2 separate regions of the Homo sapiens genome follow, and region 2 is linked to region 1. The links are contacts of gene promoters, found by promoter capture Hi-C in blood cells and fetal thymus (Javierre and others, 2016). All regions are on one chromosome and are shown on one strand. The core of a region is centred on a gene start or on the middle of the fragment in contact, and the rest is flanking DNA. Distances in the headings are between cores, read along the strand shown.

Region 1 (6,922 bases), core at 2,064-4,563:
GAACTCCTGGGCTCAAGCAATCCTCCTGCCTTGGCCACTCTGGCGTGAGCCACGATGCCTGGCCAAATCTTTATTTTCATTCTGGCAAATTTCAACATGTGAAGATTAATTCAAAAGAATAAAACTTCCAGGCTAATTGGCAATAAAAACCAAAATTATTTAAACGTGACAGTACAGCATGTTTGAGGGTAGCCAAAAGTTTCATTGAACTGAAAGGTGTAGGCTGTAAAAGTGAACATGGAGATGGACACCAGCAGAGAGCAGGGTGGAAGTTAGCAGGTAAAACATGCCTGAATCCTTGTACCATCTCATTAAGCTCCTCCAAGCACTCTGCACACTCTCCTAAGGCATGACTGAGCTGCTCTGAGTTTTTTTAAACCGTTACTTCGTTGTTTTTACTAGAATGTCTTCCTAACCATTCTAAGGCATCTTTGTGTCCCCATCACCTAGGAAAGTATCTGGCATATGAACAGGGGTTCAATAACTGCTTGTTGAATAAATGAAACACTTCACAGTTCCATGGGTTGTTTCACAGACCATCTCTAAACCACCTGTCTGGTCCCTTCCTCTTCCATGCTGCCTGCCTCTACCACTAGCCCTTTTGTTTACCCTTTGTTAAGTTTAGAGTTTCCCTATTAGGCATTCTAATCTGATCTTCTTGCCAGATAACCAGAGAAATGGCCCTGCCATAACACTCTTCTTCCCCAAAGGAGAGCATTTTCCTCTATCCTTGTGCCAGCCCCGCAACCACACAATCTATCATTTGTGTTCTACAGCAAATTCAAGTAACTTATCTGGAGTTAAGCACCCCCACCCTCACATGCAGGCTTTTCTGGACTTACTCTCACTTTGTTCACTGTAAAATGGCCCCTTTAAGTTTGACCTAACTTAAGAGCCATTACAATCAAATCAAATTGAAGAAATGCAGTACAAATGAAGTATTAAAAGGGTTCTTTCTGAGGTGTCTGTCTGAAGAAAAAGGTAATCTTGGAGGAATATCATCTTCTCCTCTCTCAAGTATTAGTAAGTTTTAAACAATAACAAATCTACTCCATGTAAAATGGAGTTAACAGTCAATTGATCAAAATTAACACTCTTCATTGACTAGAATTGGTTCCAATAATTTGTATTTGCTAAAATCTAGGATTGCACTGTAGGAAAAATTCAGTAGGATTTAACAAAGCTGTCTCTTAAAAATGGGAGACACTGGGAGAGGAACTGGATGGCTGGTGTCAAGGAAGGGAAGGAAACTTGTTTATCATTGTATATGGTTTTCCACCTTTTTTTTTTTCACATGTGCATATATTACTTATCCAGCCCACGCTCAAAATCAAAACAAAAATCCTGGGAGGCAGCCTAAAAATTTGAAACTGTTCCAGTTACATATGATCATAAAGCTGGGACAGAGATAGAAATCAAAGAGATGAACACTTCCAACTTGGCTGAGAGAGCTAGTCACTGCCCACTGACTCAGGGGCACCGCATCTAAGGGAAAGACACAGCAGCTGAGAGACCTGGCTCCAGTTCTTCCAGCAACTCCTAGTCCCCGCTGGTGCCAGGATTACCATTCAGGTGTTCTGCGGCAACACAAGACAACAAACAACCCATTAAGCCTTTGGAGAAAAGCCTATTTACTTCAGAGCTCAATCTTTTTTTTTTTGAGACGGAGTCTCGCTCTGTCGCCCAGGCTGGAGTGCAGTGGCGCAATATCGGCTCACTGCAAGCTCCGCCTCCCGGGTTCACGCCATTCTCCTGCCTCAGCCTCCCAAGTAGCTGGGACTACAGGCGCCCGCCACCACGCCCGGCTAAGTTTTTGTATTTTTTAGTAGAGACGGTGCTTCACCGTGTTAGCCAGGATGGTCTCCATCTCCTGACCTCGTGATCTGCCCACCTCGCCCTCCCAAAGTGCTGGGATTACAGGCGTGAGCCACCGTGCCTGGCCACTTCAGCGCTCCATCTTGCCAAGGTTTATGTACCAGCTGAGTGGAATCATCTGGGAAGGGATCATAAATAGCTACTCCATAATCTCCCACAACAGTTTTCTGATGTCTGAAGCTTACTCTGTACTATAATCTCTAGATTAGGCAGTTCCCCGACTGCAGACCCCATGAGATGACTTTCAACCACAAGCAAAGCAACACAAAGCAGATGGCAAAGCAATTAAAAACTATTTTTAATCATGTCTCTCTCTTCGCCCAAGTTTCTCAAATACTGTGCCTAGGTCTAACCCCTCTCTCCCACTTCACTCAACAAACGTGTATTGAGAATGTGGTAATGAGAAACACGGTGCAGATATAAAGGTGAACAAAGAACCCTAAGTATCCCACTTCTCAAATGATTCTCCTCTTTCCTCCCTGAAAACAAACCCAATCCCTCAAGATAGCCCAAGTCTGGAAATAAGACGATAACCGATTAGAAGGGGATTCCTAGCTTAATGGGAATAACATTGTACAATAACCAACAACTTGAATCTAACTGATGAATACAGTACACATGCGGGCAGAAAAGTGCAGAGCACGTCTAAAATCCTACCACATGGTCCTTCCCTTAACTCCCATCATAAACCTACATAGCCTGGTTATAGGGGGCTCACAGGTTTTCAGGGCCGACGGGACGCCCTTCCCCGTGCCCGCGCCACCCATTCGATCTCCACACTCCCGAGACCATCCCCGGCCAGGCCGCAGTGCCCCGGGCGTGGCTTGGACCCTCACCTGCCGGCTGGCCGCCGCTCAGCGCAGAGGGGGGCTGCAGGCTATACACTGTCTTAACCACACTGGTCATCGTAACGAGGCGGCACGGCTGAACCCTGGAAGGTACAGGATGAATGTTACCCAGCGCTGGGCCACTGGGCCCGAGAGAGTGGAGGGCCCGGGGATAGCGCGACCCGACAGGCCCCGGCTCGGGGTTGGAAAAGAGAAAATCCTCCTTTCCCAGCTCATTCCGTCCTTCCTCCCATCCAGCCCAGTCCCTCGCCCCGGGAGAGCCGAACCCAGGAGCCCGCCGGTCCTGCCCGCAGTCCTTCTCGCTCTCGTTTAAAAGATTCCCTGCAGCAACTGTCGTGCCACCGGCTAAGTCGGCCGCCTGGGTTTCAAATAGAAACTTCCGGTAGCTAGGCGGAAGTGGGTGGGAATCGCACTCTGTAGACAGCCATGTTGTACGGAAAACTCTGTCCAGGGGCGGGGCTTCGGGAGCCGCCATACTGTACGGAAGGTTCGCTCAGAGGCCAGAGCCAGACCTAGCGAAAGGTGTTGGAGCCCCCAGGTCTGGGCAGAGGAGGAGGGTGATGCAATTTGTAGGCTTGAATGGAGCTAATGAGCTACCAGCGTCATATTCCGGGATGGAGACGCAAACGTGGCGACATTTAGGGTCCATGTCACAATCCTCTTTATTTAGTTTGGGATTGTTAGGGATATTGCCAGGAGCACAGGTTATTTGGATGAAAACTACACGTTACAGGTGGAGAGTGGCAGGTGAGGCTTGAAGAAAAGGACCTATGGGCTGAGATACCTGAGGCACCTACCTGAGGTCCTAATTTTAATAGCACTTATCCAGATTTTCAGTAGTGATTCAAAGCTACTCCCAATAAACAGGGTAGCTTCCATTACTAAATGCACTAGCTCATTCATTTCATCTGGCATTTATTGAGTACCTGCTGATTACCCAACAGTGTTCTCAGTGGGTGGAAGGGAGTGAGGGAGGGCAAATATCAAGATTGACCTTGGCTCTGCCCTCCTGGAGTTTACAACTTAGAAAACAGACAGTGAACAAATAATCACATAAATAAATATATATTTACGGATTGTGGTGAAATTGTGAAGAAGGCTGGGCACAGTGGCTCACAGCTGTAATTATAGCACTTTGGGAGGTGGAGGCGGGTGAATTGCTTGAGTCCAGGAGTTTGAGACCACCCTGGGCGACATGGTGCAACCCCGTCTCTACAAAAAATACAGAAATTAGCCAGGTGTCGTGGCATGCTCCTGTAGTCCCAGCTACCCTGGAGGCTGAGGTGGGGGAATTATGTGACCCTGGGCGGGGCAGAGGTTGCAGTGAGCGGAGATCGCGCCACTGCACTTCACCCTGGGTGACAGAGCGTGATCTCAAAAATCAAACCAAAACACACACACTATGAAGAAAAAGTACAAAATCGTATAAGATAGAAAAGCAGGGAAACTTAGATTATATTGGGGGCTCAGGGAAGACCTCTCTGAGATGATGTTTGATTAAGGAAGGAGAGGGAGTTAATTTCATTGGGGAAAGGGGAAAATGCAAAGTCCCAAGGCAGAAATGGGTTCTTCTATAGGCACAGAAAGATAGGAAGAGAGTGGTACAGATAAAGCTGGAGAAATAAGCAGTCAAAAGACAGATTTTACAGGCCAAGGTATAGAGATTAGATTTTATCTAAAAGTAATGGAAAGCCACTGAAGTATTATAGCAGGAGAGTGTCATCCAATTTATATTTTATTTTATTTTATTATTATTTTTTGAGACAGGGTCTCACTCTGTTGCCCAGGCTGGAGTGCAATCATAGTTCACTGCAACCTTGAACTCCTGGGCTCAGGAGATCCTCCCACCTCGGCCTCCTGAGTAGCTAAGACTAAAGGTGCCTGCCACCAGACCCAGCTAATTTTTGTAGAGATGGGGTCCTGCTATGATGCCCAGGCTGGTCTTAAACCCCTGGCCTCAAATGATCCTCCCACTTCAGCCTCCCAAAGTGTTGGAATTACAGGCATGAGCCACTGTACCTGGCTCAATTTATATATACTTTATATATATATTCTTTTCTTTCTTTTTTTTTTTGGAGACGGAGTCTCACTCTGTTGCCCAGGCTGGAGTGCAGTGGCACGATCTCGGCTCACTGCAACCTCCGCCTCCTGAGTTAAAGCGATTCTCCTGCCTCAGTCTCCCGAGTAGCTGGGTCTACAGTGCCACCACCACGCTTGGCTAATTTTTTATATTTTTAGTAGAGACGGGGTTTCACCATGTTGGCCAGACTGGTCTCAAACTCCTGACCTCAGGTGATCTGCTCGCTTCGGCCTCCCAAAGTACTGGGATTACAGGCGTGAGCCACCACGCCCAGTCCTTTTTCTTTTCGAATAATTGGGCTTGAATAATTGTGTGGATAGAGTCACTATTTTCTGCTGGGGGAGATTGAGAGTTGGGTTTTGAACGTGGAAAACCTCGACATATCTTTGAGGCATTCCGGTGGAGTGGTCAAGTAGGCAATTGGAAATACAGGCCCTGAGCCCAGAAGAGAGCCTGGATTGGAGATACACCCTTGGGAGTTGTTGACATATGAATGTACTTAAAATCTTGATATTTAGGAGTTCGAGACCAGCCTGGCCAACATGATGAAACCCCGTCTCTGCTAAAAATACAAAAAAATGGCCAGGCACAGTGGCTCACACCTGTAATCCCAGCACTTTGGGAGGCTGAGGTGGGATCACTTAAGGCCAGAAATTCGAAACCAGCCTGGCCAACATGGTGAAACTCCATCTCTACTAAAAATACAAAAAACTAGCCAGGCATGGTGGTGCATGCCTGTAATCCCAGCTACTTGGGAGGCTAAGGCAGGAGAATGACTTGAACCTCAGAGGTGGAGGTTGCAGTGAGCCGAGATGGTGCCACTGTACTCCAGCCTGGGTGACAGAGCGAGACTCTGTCTCAAACAAAATAAAATAAAAAATAAAATAAAACCTTGATATTTGATGAGCTCAAGAGAAGAAGTGTGCAGAGAGCCTTTGGGCCAAGGACAGGGACACCTGCATTTAAAAGTTGCAATGGTAATAAGGTGCTTGCCAAGAAACCTGATAAAGAAGTGCCAGAGAGGTGAGAAGAAAACAAAAAAGGGTGGTGTTCCAAAATCCAAGGAGGAAGTGGCAAGCTGCTGAAGGAGGGAGTGGTGAACTATTGAAAATAGTTGAAAGGGCAAGCAGAATGAGAACGAAAAGCATCCAATGAATTTAGCAACAGAGAAGTCATGATGAGTCTAGCAAGAGGAATGCTGGTGGAGCGTTTGGAGTGGCAGTCACATGGGCATGGGTTGAAGAGTACGTGGGAGATGAGGAAGCAGAGATGGCAGAACTCCAGGCGTCTGTTGCAAAAAGAGCAGAGCAACTGGGCAGTAACTGGAGATGGGTTATGGGGGTCAAAGGAAGCTTTCCTTAAAGCTGTGGATATGTGTGCTGATAGGAACGAGCCAGCAGAACAGAGGGAAAGGATACTCAGGAGCAAGGAAGAAGGAAGATGGGATCCAGAGTAGCATCTTTAAATTCCTTTATTCATGCGCCCCCACAAAATAAAAAAATAAAAAAACCCTCTTGCCTGTTTTCACTTGATACCTAAAATTTAAGTTTACTTTTATTTTTATTTTTTTAGAGGCAGGATCTTGCTATGTCACCCAGGCTAGAGTGCAGTGGCTATTCACAGGTGTGATCATAGATAGCGTACTGTAGCCTTGAACTTCTGGACTCAAGCCATCCTCTCACTTCAGCCTCCTAAGTAGCCAAGACTGTAGGCATGCACTATCTCACCTGGCTTAAATTTTTTTCATAACTTTAAATCATTGTAAAGGACATACTTTCTGCCTGTTGTATATTGTGTATACTTTTTTTCTTTTTTTTTGAGATACGGTCTCGCTTGGTTTCCCAGGCTGGAGTGCAGTTGTGCGATCATAGCTCACTGCAGCCTTCAACTCTTGGGCTCAAGCGATCTTCCTGCCTCAGCGTCCCAAGTAGTTGGGGCTATAGGCACGTGCCACCATGCCTGGCTAATTTTAAAATTTTTTTGTGGAGATGAAGTCTTGCTATGTTGCCCAGGCTGGTCGGGAGCTCCTGGCCTCAACTGATTCTCCCACCTTGGCCTCCCAAAGTGCTGAGATTACAGGCATGAGCCACCCACCTGGTCACATTGTGTATACTTTGTA
Region 2 (6,922 bases), core at 1,238-3,737, 1.0 Mb before region 1:
TATCCAGTGTACTTTATAAACACGAACTCTAGCACCATGAAAAATGACTGTGAAACATTATCATTTTGCAGTATGAAAAAAATTTAAAACTAACAGATTGAGTTGGTATAGTGGAAACAGTATAGGCTTTGTACTCATGCAGATCTGGGTTCAAATCCCAATGCTACCACTTACTAGTTGTGAGTTATTTAACTTTTTCAACCTCCATTTTCTTTATGTAAAGTAGAGGAAATAATTCCAAATTTACCATAATGTGAAAACTTGAAAATCTAAACAAAACAATTAAAGTGCCTACTCTAGGCACTATATAAATGGTAGCCAATGTTGTTATTGTCTGAAACATTCACATTTGTAGATGAAAAGACAGAAAAAAATAGATTCTACTCCTTCTAATTGCCAGTCTAAAATTATCTACCAATCAAACTTTTACAGTCGAAATTATACTTTTGATATTTTTGTAAACTTCAGGAGCCTTTCAATGAGAACATTTTCAATTCCTACCCCAAAACAAAGTTTCTATTCCTTAGATAGTCTTACACAGGCCCCATTACTTCTCCATCTCCCTACCACCATTTTCAAAGCAGTCTTCTTTCTACAGCACCTCCTCAATCCTTTTCTTCTTAAAAGTCCTCCCCTTGGCGGAGCTTGCAGTGAAGCCAAGATCGCACCACTGCACTCCAGCCTGGGCGACAGTGCGAGACTCCGTCTCAAAAAAAAATAAATAAATAAATAAAAAGTCCTCCCCTTTTATGCCTTAATACTTTCTTTTTCTTTCTTTTCTTTTTTTTTTTTTTTTTGTGATGGAGTTTCGCTCTTGTTGCCCAGGCTCACTGCAACCTCCGCCTCCCGGGTTCAAGAATTCTCCTGCCTCAGCCTCCCGAGTAGCTGGGATTACAGGCATGTGCCACCACGCCCCGCTAATTTTGTATTTTTAGTAGAGATGGGGTTTCTCCATGTTGGTCAGGCTGGTCTCGAACTCCCGACCTCAGATGAGCCTTGGCCTCCCAAAGTGCTGGGACTACAGGCGTGAGCCACCGCGCCCAGCCCCTAATACTTTCAAACTGAGACCTCTGGCTTCATATAAAAGACCCCCAAGAAGCCATTCATAGAAAAACTTTACAATTAGCAAATGCTTGCACTGCCATCAATTTTTACAAACACTTGATCTTTACAATAAACCAATTAGATACACAAGGCTGATGTTACATTTTCATTTTACATTTAAGACCAAAGATATATAGCTAGAAAATAGCATAAGCCCAGCCTAGAATTCAAATTTTCAGACTCCAAGTTCAATACTCTTTCTACTCAAAAGCTACTATCTCTTGCATATTCTTTCTTTACATCATTTGCTCATTAAACAGAAAGGAGACCATCTTTGTATCGCCTGGTATCACTAGAGCACTGCTACAAAGAGCAGATTCCTCCCTACAATGTTTTCTAGAGTATATAAACAGTTCAACCCCAAGACACTGAGGCCAAAAGTTACTTTCAGTGCTTCCTGCAGTCTTCAAGTAAGAAAGAATTCTGGGATGCTGCGTGAAAGGGCCAAGAGGAGGCCTGGGCTATGCACAGTCCCTCCATGTCGCCCTACATAGTTCTCTATTTCTTCCAGTATCTGCCCTCTTTCCTCCACCCAAGAGTGTTTTTTTGGGTCTGACACCTCAACAAGGGCCCTTCTCAAACACAAACGACCCTAGTCGCCAAATAAACTCGTGCCCACAGCTAAGTCATCCTTGGCAAGCATGGCAGAGGCTCCTAGGAACATTTACGAGTGTCCTTCCTCTGTCCACATCCCTTGTCCGAAAAACTTCCATCTTCCAGAGTCCGGATCTTCTTGGCCCTCGCCCCCAACTGCTCGACGCGCACCCTTGCACCTCCTCCAAAACCTCCCAGCCTCCCAGGTTGGCGGGCGATACTTCCTATCTCTCCCAGCCCGGATCTCCTGGACTACAGCCCGCCGCCCCGATCTGGCCCCGGAAGATCGCGGCCCCTTTCGCTACCCCCGAGCCCGAGGCCCAACGGCCCGGTCCCTGCCCCGCCTCCCCGCCCAAGGCGCCAAGTCCTCGGGGCTCCGTCTCCAGGCCCGGGCCGGTCTCCAAGGCCCCGCACACTCCAGGAAGACGGGAAAGGGGCTGTAGTGGTGCCCAGGGCACGGGGCGAGCTGGGCGCTCTGGTAGGAAGGCTCCAGGCCCGGCCGTCTCCGGCTCCCGCGGCCCCGACAGCCCTCTGGCTCCGCCGGCCCGCGCCTCCGCGGCCTGCCCTCACCTGATCCAGGTTCTCGTCGCTGCCGCTGTCCTCTGTGTCCGAGTCGATCACGACGCGGCCTTTCCGCTTCTTTACCATGGTGGTCCCCCGGCTCCCACGCCGGCCGCCGCCCGGACTCCCCTCTTGCCCGCCTGCCAGTGGGACCGCCACTGCCGCCGCCGCCGCCGCTGCTCGACCCACACAAAGGCGACCGCGCATGCGCGCTCCGCTCCGCCCCCCTGGCCCCGCCCCCTGCTCGCCGCACGCCGTTCGCAGGTCGCCGGGTGCCCCGCCCTGCCCCGCCCCCGACGCAGCGTGAGAGGCGGGGCCTTCCCCCGTCGCTGGTTCCCGGCAGAGAGTGGTGGTGGCTTTACCCGCGACTGCCCTGGAGTCCTTGGCTGTATCTCTGCTGCGGAGCCGAAGTTTGGTGGGCTCTCTTCCTATCGGGGGCTGGAGCCGCAAGGATCCAGGTTCTCTCTGAGGGGGCTCACGTGTCTACCTACTTTCAAGCTGTCCAACACTGATGGCGTGTACTTAAGGGGCCGACGGCCTGGAAGACATAAGTCGCCTGGACCACGCGGTGGACACCGGTTGGGGGCTGGAGACTGCCGACCCGGGCTGTGCGAATGACAGCTGAGCTGGGACCTGGAGAATGCATCTGAATTACCCAAAAGGAGAGTAGAGTGTTGCATGCAGAGAACAGCGTAGGCAAAATGGCCCGGCGATAATAAAGTTAGGTTCGGAGAACTGAAGTTAGTTATGGCCAGAGCAGAGATTGTGGGTGGGGATAGGCGACAGACCAGGCTGGAGAAGGACACGGCGACTGCCTCACTCAGATCCTAATAAGTAAGCTGAATTAGGGAGTTTGAACTTGAGTATTGAAAGATTTTAAACTGAAGAACCACATGATTTGATTTGTGTGTGGTTTTGTGTTTTAGTAGAGACGGGGCCTCCCTATATTGCCCAGGCTGGTCTCGAACCCCTGGGCCCAAGGGATCCTCCTGCCTTGGCCTCCCAAAGTGCTGGGATTACAGGCGTGAGCTACCGTGCCCAGCCTGATTTGTGGTGGTGTTTTTTTGTTTGTTTGTTTGTTTGTTCGTTTGTTTTGGAGACGGAGTCGCTCTTGTTGCCCGGCCTGGAGTGCAGTGGCAGCTCACTGCAACTCCGCTTCCCAGGTTCAAGCGATTCTCCTGCCTCAGCCTCCTGAGTAGCTGGGATTACAGGCTCCTGCCACCACGCCCGGCTAATTTTTTTTTTTTTTTTTTTTTTGAGACGGAGTTTCGTTCTTGTCGCCCAGGCTGGAGTGCAATGGCGCGATCTTGGCTCACTGCAACTTCTGCCGCCTGGGTTCAAGCGATTCTCCAGCCTCAACCTCCGGAATAGATGGCATTACAGACGCCCTTCACCACGCCCTGCTAATTTTTGTATTTTCAGTAGAGATGGGGTTTCAGCATGTTGGCCAGGCTGGTCTCAAACTCCTGGCCTCCGGTGATCCGCCCGCCTCAGCCTCCCAAAGTGCTGGGATTATAGGCATGAGCCACTGCACCCAGGCCTGATTTGTGTTTTTCAAAGATTACTCTGACCGCAGTATGGCGAATGGACTAAGGGCAGGGAGATCGCTTGGATTGTTGTTGTCTTCTTGGCAAGAGATGATGGTGTCCTGACCTAAGGACGAAGCTGTGGGAATGGAAAGAAGTGGATGGACTCTGGATAATTTGGAACGTAGAATCCCCAGGATTTGGGATAGGGGTAAGGGAAGGAGTGCTCCCAGATACCTATTGATGTTCAGATTCTAGCTTAGGAAGCTAGTGGCAGGTGAGCCCTTCATCAAAAAAATGAAATACAAGAGGAGAGAAGAAGGTTTTGGGAACTGGTGTGTATAGGAAATAAGTTTTTATACTTAAGTTTGAGGTCAGCTGATAAAAAGGTCAGCTCCAGAAGTTATTTCCTTTAGTGATTAGGAATATAAAGTAGGGGCCGGGCGTGGTGGCTCACACATGTAATCCCAGCACTTTGGGAAGCTGAAGAGGGCCGATCACCTGAGGGCAGGAGTTCAAGACCTGCCTGGCCAACATGGCAAAACCCCATCTCTACTAAAAATACAAAAATTAGGCCGGGCACAGTGGCTCACGCCTGTAATCCCAACTTTGGGAGGCTGAGGCAGGGGGATCACAAGGTCAGGAAATCGAGACCAGCCTGACCAACATGGTAAAACCCTGTCTCTACTAAAAATACAAAAATTAGCCGGGCATAGTGGCGTGTTCCTGTAATCCCAGCTACTTGGGAGGCTGAGGCAGGAGAATCACTTGAACCTGAAGGCGGAGGCTGCAGTGAGACGAAATCGTACCACTGCACTCCAGCCTGGCAACAGACGTGACTCTTTCTCAAAAATAATAATAATAATAATAATAATAATCTGGACCGGGTGCAGTGGCTCTTTCCTGTAACCCCAGCACTTTGGGAGGCTGAGGCAGGTGGATCACGAGGTCAGGAGCTCAAGACCAACTTGGCCAAGACAGTGAAACCCCGTTTCTACTAAAAATACAAAAATTAGTCAGACGTGGTGGTGGGCGCATGTATTCCCAGCTACTTGGGAGGCTGAGGCAGAGAATTGCTTGAACCTGGGAGGTGGAGGTTGCAGTGAGCTGAGATCGCGCCACTGCACTCCAGCCTGGGCAACAATAGCGAGCCTGTTCTCAAAAAAAAAAAAAGGAAAAAAGAAAATAATCGCACCACTGCACTTCAGCCTGGGTGACAAAGTGAGACCCTGTCTCAAAAAAATAAATAAATAAAACAACCTAAATAAAGTCCAACTACCTCTTTACCCTAGAAGAGTTTTCCTAAGATACAGCTCATAGACTTTTCTCCCCCGACATATCCTTGGAACCATGGCCAAGGTGACCCCGAATCACCAGCCCAGCTTCCGTATGTCTAGCCACCCTGAAGCCTGTGGTGCCCTTCTGGAGGACCCTCTTTAAATGTGTTAATACACAGTACTGCTAAAAAGGAAGCCATGACATGGTCAGTGGCCCTTGACTGGAATTAATAAAAGTATGTTCTTTGAGTGAAATCTGTAGATTTTGATCTTTCTGCAAGGGGTCTTCTAATGATTCACGTACTGAAGTTAGTCCGTATTGAGTCTAATCAATGTCTAAATTTAGTGAATAAACGTTGCTTTAAACTCCCTCTTGAGTCAGCTTCCCAGAGAACCCAACCAGTCAAAGTTTCCAATTAGTAAAATGAGGATAATGATAGTGTCTGTCTCTTTGGGTTCTTATAAGGTTTAAGTTTACAAAGCAGGCATGGAGGCACAGGTCTATGGTCCCAGTTACTTGGGAGGCTAAGGTAGGAGGATCGGTTGAGCCCAGGAGGTGGAATCCATCCTTGGCAACTTAGAGAAACCACGTCTCAAAAAAAATAGTAAGTTAGGCCAAGCCGAGTGTGGTGGCTCACGCCTGTAATCCCAGCACTTTGGGAGGCCGAGGCAGGCGGATTACCTGAGGTCAGGAGTTCAAGACCAGCCTGGCCGACATGGTGAAATCCCATCTCTACTAAAAATACAAAAAAAAAAAAATTAGCTGTGCATTGTGGCAGGCGCATGTAATCCCAGCTACCTGGGAGGCTGAGGCAGGAGAATCACTTGAACCCAGGAGGCGGAGTTGGAGTGAGCTGAGATCGCGCCATTGCACTCCAGCCTGGGCAACAAGAGTGAAATTCCATCTCAAAATTTAAAAAAATAATGATAATAATAAGTTAGGCCAGGCGGGGTGGCTCATGCCTGTAATCCTAGCACTTTGGGAGACCAAGGAGGGTGGATCACTTGAGGTCAGGAGTTCGAGACCAGCCTGGCTGATATGGTGAAACCCCGTCTCTACTAAAAATACAAAAATTCGCTGGGCGTGGTGGCACCCACCTGTAGTCCCAGCTACTCGGGAGGCTGAGGCAGGAGAATTGCTTGCACCTGGAAGGCGGAGGTTGCAGTGAGCTGAGATCACATCACTGCACTCCAGCCTGGGCAACAGAGCGAGACCTCATCTCAAAAAAAAAAAAAAAAAAATACTGTCCATTATCTAATCTTGGAATTTTTTTTTTTTTTTTGAAACAGAGTCTTGCACTGTCACCCAGGCTGGAGTGCAGTGGTATGATCATGGCTCACTGCAGCCTTAGACTCCTGGGCTCAAGCAATCCTCCCACCTCAGCCTGCCAAGTAGCTGGGACTAGAGGCATGTGCCAACACACCCTGCTAATTTTTTTATTTTTATTTTTTGTAGGGACAAGATCTCACTATGTTGCCCAAGCTGGTCTCCAATTCCTATCCTCAAGTGATCCTCCTGCCTCAGTTTCTTAAAAGTGTTGAGATTATAGCATGAGCCACCATATCCGGCCCAATCTTACAACTTGGTCCTCTTGATCAGGCACCCTCAGAATCCAGTCGTTTGCTACTCTCCCAGCTCCTGCCACCACCTGCTTGGCTAGTTCTTGCAGCTCTTTTGGCGTATAGTCCTTTTCCTCCTTTATTAGGCCCAATATGTCCCCCACTGGGTTATGTGGTGACTTAACCCTATATAAGTCTAGTGGCCAGGAGAGGGGTAAGAGCAGATTCTGAGGGGAAGGAGAAATCCTTCAGTCCTGCCAGGGACAAGCCTCTGCAGTGTCTAAAAGGAGGAGAGGAGGC

Evidence for each region. The method cuts DNA at HindIII sites, captures the fragments that hold promoters and counts their contacts. A CHiCAGO score of 5 or more calls a contact.
Region 2: the fragment with the promoter of RTF1 here is called in contact with the fragment with the promoter of KNSTRN in region 1 in 1 of 17 cell types (neutrophils); the score reaches 5.3 in neutrophils.

What each region holds. Positions count from the first base shown.
Region 1 is chr15:40,379,112-40,386,033 of GRCh38, reverse strand. It overlaps KNSTRN (kinetochore localized astrin (SPAG5) binding protein), which reads right to left and starts at 3,313. Exons shown (of 9, transcript NM_033286.4): 1 at 2,990-3,313; 2 at 2,712-2,806. The coding sequence starts at 3,198. RefSeq lists enhancers at 2,235-2,756, 2,822-2,991, 2,757-3,280, 3,240-3,309, 3,935-4,435. The HindIII fragment of the contact is 4,100 bases long and covers 2,058-6,157 here.
Region 2 is chr15:41,412,660-41,419,581 of GRCh38, reverse strand. RTF1 (RTF1 homolog, Paf1/RNA polymerase II complex component) reads right to left here and starts at 2,487. Exons shown (of 18, transcript NM_015138.5): 1 at 2,269-2,487. The coding sequence starts at 2,466. RefSeq lists a silencer at 2,008-2,597 and an enhancer at 2,658-2,757. The HindIII fragment of the contact is 7,291 bases long and covers 1-6,922 here.